3 separate regions of the Homo sapiens genome follow, and all the other regions are linked to region 3. The links are contacts of gene promoters, found by promoter capture Hi-C in blood cells and fetal thymus (Javierre and others, 2016). All regions are on one chromosome and are shown on one strand. The core of a region is centred on a gene start or on the middle of the fragment in contact, and the rest is flanking DNA. Distances in the headings are between cores, read along the strand shown.

Region 1 (2,700 bases), core at 71-2,570, 270 kb before region 3:
GTTATACTATTTATCCTTTTTGTGCATATATATGTATAAAGATATGTCAATTTATTGCTAATTTAAAATAACACCAAATTAAAATTAGCATGGGATGTGGATGTTTAAGGATCAATAAGTTAATACTTTTGAGAGATTTAGAGTCCGTCAGCTCACATGTTTGGGGGGAGCTTACACACTACAGTTATTGCTAGAACACTAAACAGGATATCTTGGTGAGAGAGAGAGAGAGAAAGAATGAAATTTGTATCCAAATAAATCATAATCATATTTTTATCTAAAAACATTTCTACTTCTGTCCAAGAAAGATAGACAATTCAATTCTTTTGCAAATGACTTGCTACAGTCCCCTGATCACAATAAAATTTAACTCCTAACTACATATTCCCAACATATGGACCACAAGCCAAATTAATTCCCGACTACTAGCCCACTGGAAGGGAAATGCCTAGATGACTTCAAAGTGCTTATAACTGCATGAAGACCAGGGCCACTTTGTACGTGGCTATGGAAACGGGCAGTAGTGTTGGTGTCCTTAAAATCAAGTCCACTCACTTGGCCAAAATGATCATGTGCCAAATTATCAAGGAACATTGTATGAGTGATATGAGGAGATCTTCAGATGCATGCCCCTTTGACTTGTGATTGAATGGTTAGGGCCAGAAGTGGATAGATTCTGACTTTTTGAGTGGTCAGCACTATCGCCATTATTTTTTGGGGAAAATTCTTCTATGAGAAAATGCTAGGAGTATGTCCAAACAGAAGCCTTTTGTATTCATAGCTAGTTGCATCCGTAACCACCAGACAAGAGGTAAAAACTGATAAAAGCTACAGCCTTGGGGATATAACTCTGTCCCTGAGGTCTCCTCAGAGCCTCAGCTTTATACAAAATTTCTATTCCACTCTCAGGCAGCTGTTCAAAGTACAAGAATCTATTTCCCTGATGGGCAAGGAATCTCAGGATAGAAAACATATTCAGAACAAGATTACAGAATTGTACTTTTTCTTCAGTAAAAAAACCATTTTTTTTTCTTGCTTCTACAGAACATCCACAGCTGAGTCCAAATACATTTCAGTCAGATGTCCTTAAGAAAACAAGGTCTTTGGGGCTGATCTCAGACACACTGCAAAGCTCTGTTTGAGACTTTCTTTCCCATTCCTGTTGTCTCAGCCTGTTGCTTCATCTTCCAGAATCCTTTAAAGTTACCTTTTCTTTGGATTTACTACGAGGTTCAGTGCCACCAGGTGGTTCTTCCCAATTCTTCATGTTAGTCAAATTCCTGGTTTGACTTTGCCACTTAAGGACTTAGCTCTGTTCCTGAATCTTGGTCTGAGTTAATCTTGATCTGAGTTAAGTCCTGGATGGCAGAAGATGGAATGAAGGGGTGGAAGGGGCAGAAGATTAAACAGAATATCAATTAGAAGCTGTGTTTGTGGTGCTTATATTTTCAAGTAAGAGAAAATCCCAACCCAAACTCCCAATAAAAAGGGGACTTACTAGTTATCATAACTTCACATTAGTAATAGATAATTTTCAAAACAATTCCACATGTATTATTTCACTTTATTATAAAATACTCCTCTTTGCAAAATTGTTTATCACCGCACTTCAACTGAAAAAGTGCAATTCCAAAGGTGTGTTGCCAAGGGTTACGTGGCCACTAGGTGGCGAGATGAGATTCAGATTGAGGCTTCGGAACTGGTGCTCTACTATACCTCGCCACTACCAGGATTGTTTTAAATGAGAGTTGGAAGTGGGAAACAAAAAGAAGAAAATGCAGAATAAGAAGGCAGTGAGGGGGGAGACTCTGGCTCATTTCAATTAAGGACAAATTGTATAGATTTATGTTTTTTTAAAAATGGGGAGAAATTACTGAGAGCAAGAATGGGGAGAGTGTGGTAGGGAGCTGGCTTCCTAGAGAAGGCTGGGGAATGGGGCTGGTGTTGGGGTGGGAGTCAGCAACTAAAGGCCAAATCCACCTCTTCATGGTCTGACCTTCCAATGATACAAACCCTGCACATACAATGCGTTCCTTATATTTTGGCTTCTATTTGCTTATGTTGAAACAGGTCTTTATGAACTTATACCATACAAAGATGTGGTCTCATGTTTGTCAAAACAATTATCCAAGGTCACACAGACCATTTGCAGATATTTCAACTCAAGAGCTCTGTCCTCACCTGTCACAGTAGGGACACTTTCATTCAGAAGGAGGGAAACCAAGTGAGAAAGGGCAGAAAGGAGTCACCTTTATATTGAATTGCTTAAAATGAGTTCAGCTAGTCTCCTGAACTTTGCCAGTGCTGCCTTCATAGCTGACAACAGCTTTCTTTTGATTTGAAGTTTTGCTTTCCTTGTAAGATCTTTAAAAACACACACACACACACCAAAAACCCTTTCCTCCAAGAGTTTTCATTAATTCAGGATGAGTTAGTCCTTATGCTTCTGTTTTTCTGCCTGTGACATGGTTTGTGGTCAGCTGCTAGATTAAATAGTGAAGGCTCACTCTGAAGATCTCAATTGGAGCCACAAAGAAGTTACTGAAAGAAAGAGAAACAGAAAGAACTGAAGAGTCGTTGTGTAATCACCCACATAAAACAACTTGGCTCTAGGTGACTGGTGTGGCGTATTTGATTAAAACCCTTTTCAAAATGACCTTTTCTCCACCCGCGTGTACTATGCATCTTTCAAAGTCTGAG
Region 2 (2,700 bases), core at 1-2,500, 370 kb before region 3:
ATTCCCCACTTCATGCAGTGGCCAGGACAGCCAGTGAAGAGCTGGCCTGCCTGCTCATGGATTTTGGAGCGGACACCCAGGCCAAGAATGCTGAAGGCAAACGTCCTGTGGAGCTGGTGCCTCCAGAGAGCCCCTTGGCCCAGCTCTTCTTGGAGAGAGAAGGTGCTTCTTTGCCAAAACCTAAGCCCTAATCTGTTGACATCCCTTGGGGCTCTAGTAGAAGGCAGGTATTTGGCAATTTCTGGCTCCCATTCCTATAAAAAGATCATTCTCTGACATCACCAAATCTGGGAAGTTGAGATAATTCAATATTCAATGAGATACAGTACTGGTCACAGTACAGTAAATAACTGTCCTGCTATTTAGCATATTGGATACAGGTTTTTGGGATGATCTAATATTCATTATGGGGTAGGCCAGTTTTTTAAAAATTAAGATACTGTTTTAAAATTTTAGTATTACATTTATTTAAAACATGCTTTAGAATGAGGCAGCAGAGTCCTCTTTGGGGTTGTAAGAGGCCGCAGGATATCTTGTTGAACCACAGATGGGCCAGACTACTGGACACTTCGTTTCTGGGCTTAAAATGCAGCTGTTTAAGAGTTTAGGGTTCACACCAATCCAAAGATATTTACTATTATAAATTAACCAATGATAAGTCCACACTTCTCTATAAGTAAGAACTGAGACTCCCAACTCGAACAATGAAATATTGTGGTTGAGCAGTGTGTATGGAAGTAGGGCTTTGAGGCCTGGGCTGGGCTGGGGAACAAAGACACCTCAAGTTGGGGAGCCACCTCTTGCAATCTTCATGGGCTCAGAGGCAGTTGAGAAACCAGCTCAGTACTTCTTTTCTTACCGGAGTATGGACTCTGAAGTCTTAGGGATTCTGGGACTTTGAAGCAGGCCTTCCTACCAGAAGGATTCTGATGTTATACAATCTAGTTATTTTCTCCCCACATGATGAGCAGTAAGGTTGGCTTTGGGCAGAACTGTAAAGTGGGCTAAGGAATCCTTCTTCCTCCTACTCTCACTGCCCCAGGGTACTTGCAGTCAAGTCCCTGCCTGGGGGCATGCCAAACAAGGCCTATGCTCCTGAGCAGTGCTGGTCAGGCAGAAAAGATTGACTCCAGGCCTGGACAAGGAACAGTCCAGTAGAGGCCCCTTACAGTTAAGCAGTGGGATAATCATGGAGCAGTTCTATCTGCATTTTAATAATTACTTGTTTTGAAAAAGTTCTATGTCTACGAGGCCCATAAAAATATCTTAATTTTTAAACAATCAGAATAAAAAATGAATAGAACAACATGGATTGTAATCATCTTTATACCAACACAGTTGTGAAATAGAATTTTTAATTGTTTTCACTGAGAAAGGGATTCATAAAGGCAAAAGTGCCTCAGGTCCCCCTCAGTCATAACGTAGGGCATACGTTAATGTAGGATGTATATGTCCCCTCCTCCATCAAACAACCTCATAGCATTCTCAAATTGCCTCCCCTGGCTTTTCCCTTCTGCTTTATTTCCCAAAGCCATTCCTAGAGACAGTAATTACTTTAATTTTGAATTTACGTTTTGCACGGTGACAGTGTGGCCTATGGTCCCACTAGTTTATGAGGTGTCATTTGCTGCTGGAGAGAATCACTACTTGTTTTGCCTCCATGAGTCAATTTTGGGGTTTTGGTGTAGTCACCTCTCAGAGGGCTCGGAGCCCACAAGAAATGGGGTCAGGAAAGTGCAGAAAACTAGACCTGTGGATTGCTCACAGCAGTTTCTGTCTCTGGGTGCCCCTACATTCATTTGCTTCAGTCCACCTGTTTCTCCGTTTCCTGGGGAAGGGAATTTATTCAATTACTGTCCTCTTTCAATGGTATGGCAACAGGAGAATGTTGGTAAAACCCAACCATGTTCTGAATTGGGCTTTGCGTGGGTGTTAGGAAAGGTAAGATTTTCCCGTTTTCTGAGAAAAGGGAAAAGATTTTAAGAATATTGCCACCTCACCCTTGATAAGCATCTAAAGCAGTGTTTGCTCAATTAAAACCTAGAAATGACTGTCAGCCCAACATGACCGCAGCCCCCATCCCCCCTCACCCAGTGCACTTTGGCTTTAAAACATCAATGGTTGTTGCTGGCCGGGCACGGTGGCTCACGCCTGTAATCTCCACACTTTGGGAGGCCAAGGTGGGTGGATCATGAGTTCAGGAGATAGAGACCATCCTGGCTAACACGGTGAAACCCCGTCTCTTCTAAAAATACAAAAAAAATTAGCCGGGCGTGGTGGCAGGCACCTGTAGTCCCAGGTACTCGGGAGGCTGAGGCAGGAGAATGGTGTGAACCTGGGAAGTGGAGCTTGCAGTGAGCTGAGATCACACCACTGCACTCCAGCCTGGGCGACAGAGTGAGACTCAGTCTCAAAAAACAAAAAACAAAACATCAATGGTTGTTGCTGGGGGAAAAAAGAAATCAAGGCCCAAAGGAATATGCCAATTCATAAATACACAATTAGCTGGTTTTATTACCGAGCAAAGCAAACCCCTTGAATATTTGCAGGTGCCAGCAAGTGACTGCAAATCTGTAGTGGGTTTTCAGCTCTGTGTCTATGGACTTGAAGCTACAGTTGTTTTACATTGTCTTACTTGTAGTAAACAGCAGCATTCAGTTGGCATCAGTAGTTATTAATACACTGAGTTTCCTGTGACAT
Region 3 (2,700 bases), core at 6-2,505:
ACAGAATGTTCAACCAATAAATCAATTCTGGACTCATAGGTACTTTGCAAGATACAGTTTGGGATAAGAACTTGTTCCAGCATTGGAGGGCCTATTTTGTGGGTAGCATGCTGGGTTGTATGAAAGCCAAATCAAACAAAATATCCAAGGAATTTGTATACCCAATTAAGTACACATCAATAGTATTATGGCAGTTTCCAGGTACATTTTCGCTAGTGTTGCTGGTGAAAGGCCAGCAGTGGAACCGTGGACTGGACAATGTCACCCGTGTTGTGGGCCTAACAAGTATCCTGCAAGTTCCATAAACACGAGGGCATGCTAAAAACTTAACCGATTTCCAACTTACATTAACCCTTTAAAGGGAGCATGGGACACACCACTTGACCATTTGAAGCAGTGCACACGGCTTGTCATGGAGAGGAAAACCTTTGAGACGTGCCCAGCATCATTCCTGTGAGGGTCGAAAGGGTCCCTAACACCTCCCACAAATACACTCACAAACACTCCAGCAAAGTTGGGGATGCTCACTGCACACCTTTCTTAATACCTGGAACAGAGTACCCACCTGTCACATACTCAGCTTCGAACCTCCTCCGGGTCTCAGAGATGAGCTTGGCTTTATTCTGGGCGTGATTCTGGATGGGAGACACGATGGGACCTTAGATACTACTTGCATCAACCCGCTTACCCTCAACCCAGCCCACCTGCACACGGGCGCTCGGTCCCCGGGCCTCAGAGGCGGCTTCCGGGTCCGGGGGGCCAGCGGCGGTGCAATAGGCTCCTCACCTCTGCCATGATCACCGTCGTGGATGTGATTGCGGTTGTCGCCGTCGCCCGTTCTACCGTCGCCGACCGAGTATCTCATCACCCGGCAGTCCCGCCCAGAGGTAGACAGAGAAGGGTGGGAGGGGGAGGCGGTCGCGTGACACCGGAAGGCGGACAGAAGCGCCGCCGCACCGCCCAATCCAATGCGGACGCCTGGGTCTGGAGGCGGGACCAGGCCCTCAGCCTAGGTCCCATTCGATTCTCGTCTGGCCTCGCCCCGCGACATCCCCCGCACTGCGGTCCCGCCCCCGCCAGCCGCGAGATCGCCGGCGCTTCCCCCGCGGAGCTCCGCCCTAGAGAGCTCGCGGGCTCTCTGCTTTCACAACACTCCCCAGGGCCCCGCCTCCTCAGCCTCCCTTGGCCACCTCTCCTGGCTGGCTTCTAGGCTCCGCCTCCTCTGCGTTCGACGCAGCCTCCGCCCGGCCTCCCAGGATGCAGCGCGCTGGCGGGAGGTTTGGAGCAGATGGATACCGTATCGACGTGGGGCCTCCGGTATGTTGCCGCTGCGTTGAGGTAGGATGGGGCTGGCGAGTCTTCCCTTCCCAGGACTTCGCAGAGGGGGCGATGGGGCTGGATTTCCTCCCCTTGTCCCCGCATTGCGGGAGAGAGGGAAGGAAGCGGGCATCCCGAGACCTGGGTCTGTCATTCCTTGCAATGATAATTGGATTTTAAGTGCTACATTCGCTTGAAGTTTTTTTCATCCCTTCAGTATCCTTCCAACTTGGAGTGTGAGATGCTTAATGAGCAAAATATCTCTGAAATCTTTAATCTCAAATAATTATATAAAGTTAAAAAAAGCGTGTTTCGGCTTATTAAGGTAGTTGTGTTCAGCCGGGGGGGTGGGGGGGTGTGTGTGGGGGGGGCGGTTTTACCACCCAGGGGACCTTTGGCAACCTCTGGAGACATTTTTAGTCACCACTGCTAGGGGCCGGGGGCAAAAGAGATGCTCACTGGCTACTAGTGGATAGAGACCAGGGAAGCTGCCAAACATCCTCCAGTGTACATGAAAATTCACAACAGTTATCCAGCCCAAAATGTCAATAGTGTCAAGGTTGAGAAAGATTTAGATTTAAAGGGACTGGAACAAATTTTATTCGTCAGTTAAAAACAATTGAAAGAAAATAGTTGCGCATACAATATTGCCTTTTTTAAAGTTGAAAGATACTGAAAACTACAAACAAGTTGTAAGAATAGTCCCCCATATTTCCATCAACCGTAGTCATCCATGACAGAATGGCATGTTAGCATCTTTTGTCCTAGACTTTTAAATATATTTACATTTTTTATGGGAAAAAATGAACACATTGTTTAAACGTTGTTTGACTACATCCTTAAAAGATATTTCAGATATAACTAAAGTCTCCTTCTACCTCTACTCACCTATCCTGGACACTTCCTTGTCCAGAATCAACAGCATTCAGAATTTGGCATGAAATGTTTACAGTTTTACATTTTTTTATTTTGGATCATACTGCCTGGGTTTGAATCCTGGCTCTGTCACTTCTTATCTGCAAGCCTTTGAGAAGATCCTGAAACTCCTTGCCTCAGTTTCTCCATCTATAAAATGGGATAGTAACAGTGCCTATGTCATAAGGATGTTGTGAGGAAGAAACGAGTTAATCCAAAGTGCTTAGAGCAGTACCTGGCACTGTTTCTTCAGGAAAAAAAAAAAAAATAGTACATGGCACTATTTCTTGAGAAAGCACTCAGGGACTGTAGTCATTGTAGGTAAATAGAACATATATAATGCTGTTTTATTTGTTTTACATAAATAATATGCTGCAGTGTACATTTGTCTGCAACTTAATTTTTAATTCATTTTATTTTTGAAATTTAACCATGATTATATATATATATACACACACACACACACAC

The links. Contacts are between HindIII fragments. The CHiCAGO score rates a contact against its expected background, and 5 or more counts as called.
Region 1: a fragment that was not itself captured here is called in contact with the fragment with the promoter of FANCB in region 3 in 1 of 17 cell types (activated CD4 T cells); the score reaches 5.6 in activated CD4 T cells.
Region 2: a fragment that was not itself captured here is called in contact with the fragment with the promoter of FANCB in region 3 in 1 of 17 cell types (M2 macrophages); the score reaches 5.4 in M2 macrophages.

What each region holds. Positions count from the first base shown.
Region 1 is chrX:15,142,475-15,145,174 of GRCh38, reverse strand. No RefSeq gene overlaps it. Among named protein-coding and RNA genes, the nearest start is that of ASB9, 130 kb to the left of the region's middle. The HindIII fragment of the contact is 3,441 bases long and covers 1-2,700 here.
Region 2 is chrX:15,246,206-15,248,905 of GRCh38, reverse strand. It overlaps ASB9 (ankyrin repeat and SOCS box containing 9), which reads left to right. Exons shown (of 7, transcript NM_001031739.3): 6 at 1-162. Among named protein-coding and RNA genes, the nearest start is that of ASB9, 23 kb to the left of the region's middle. The HindIII fragment of the contact is 5,569 bases long and covers 1-2,700 here.
Region 3 is chrX:14,871,624-14,874,323 of GRCh38, reverse strand. FANCB (FA complementation group B) reads left to right here and starts at 1,255. Exons shown (of 10, transcript NM_001018113.3): 1 at 1,255-1,338. MOSPD2 (motile sperm domain containing 2) reads right to left here and starts at 903. Exons shown (of 15, transcript NM_152581.4): 1 at 787-903; 2 at 566-635. The coding sequence starts at 795. RefSeq lists a silencer at 936-1,165. The HindIII fragment of the contact is 4,870 bases long and covers 1-2,700 here.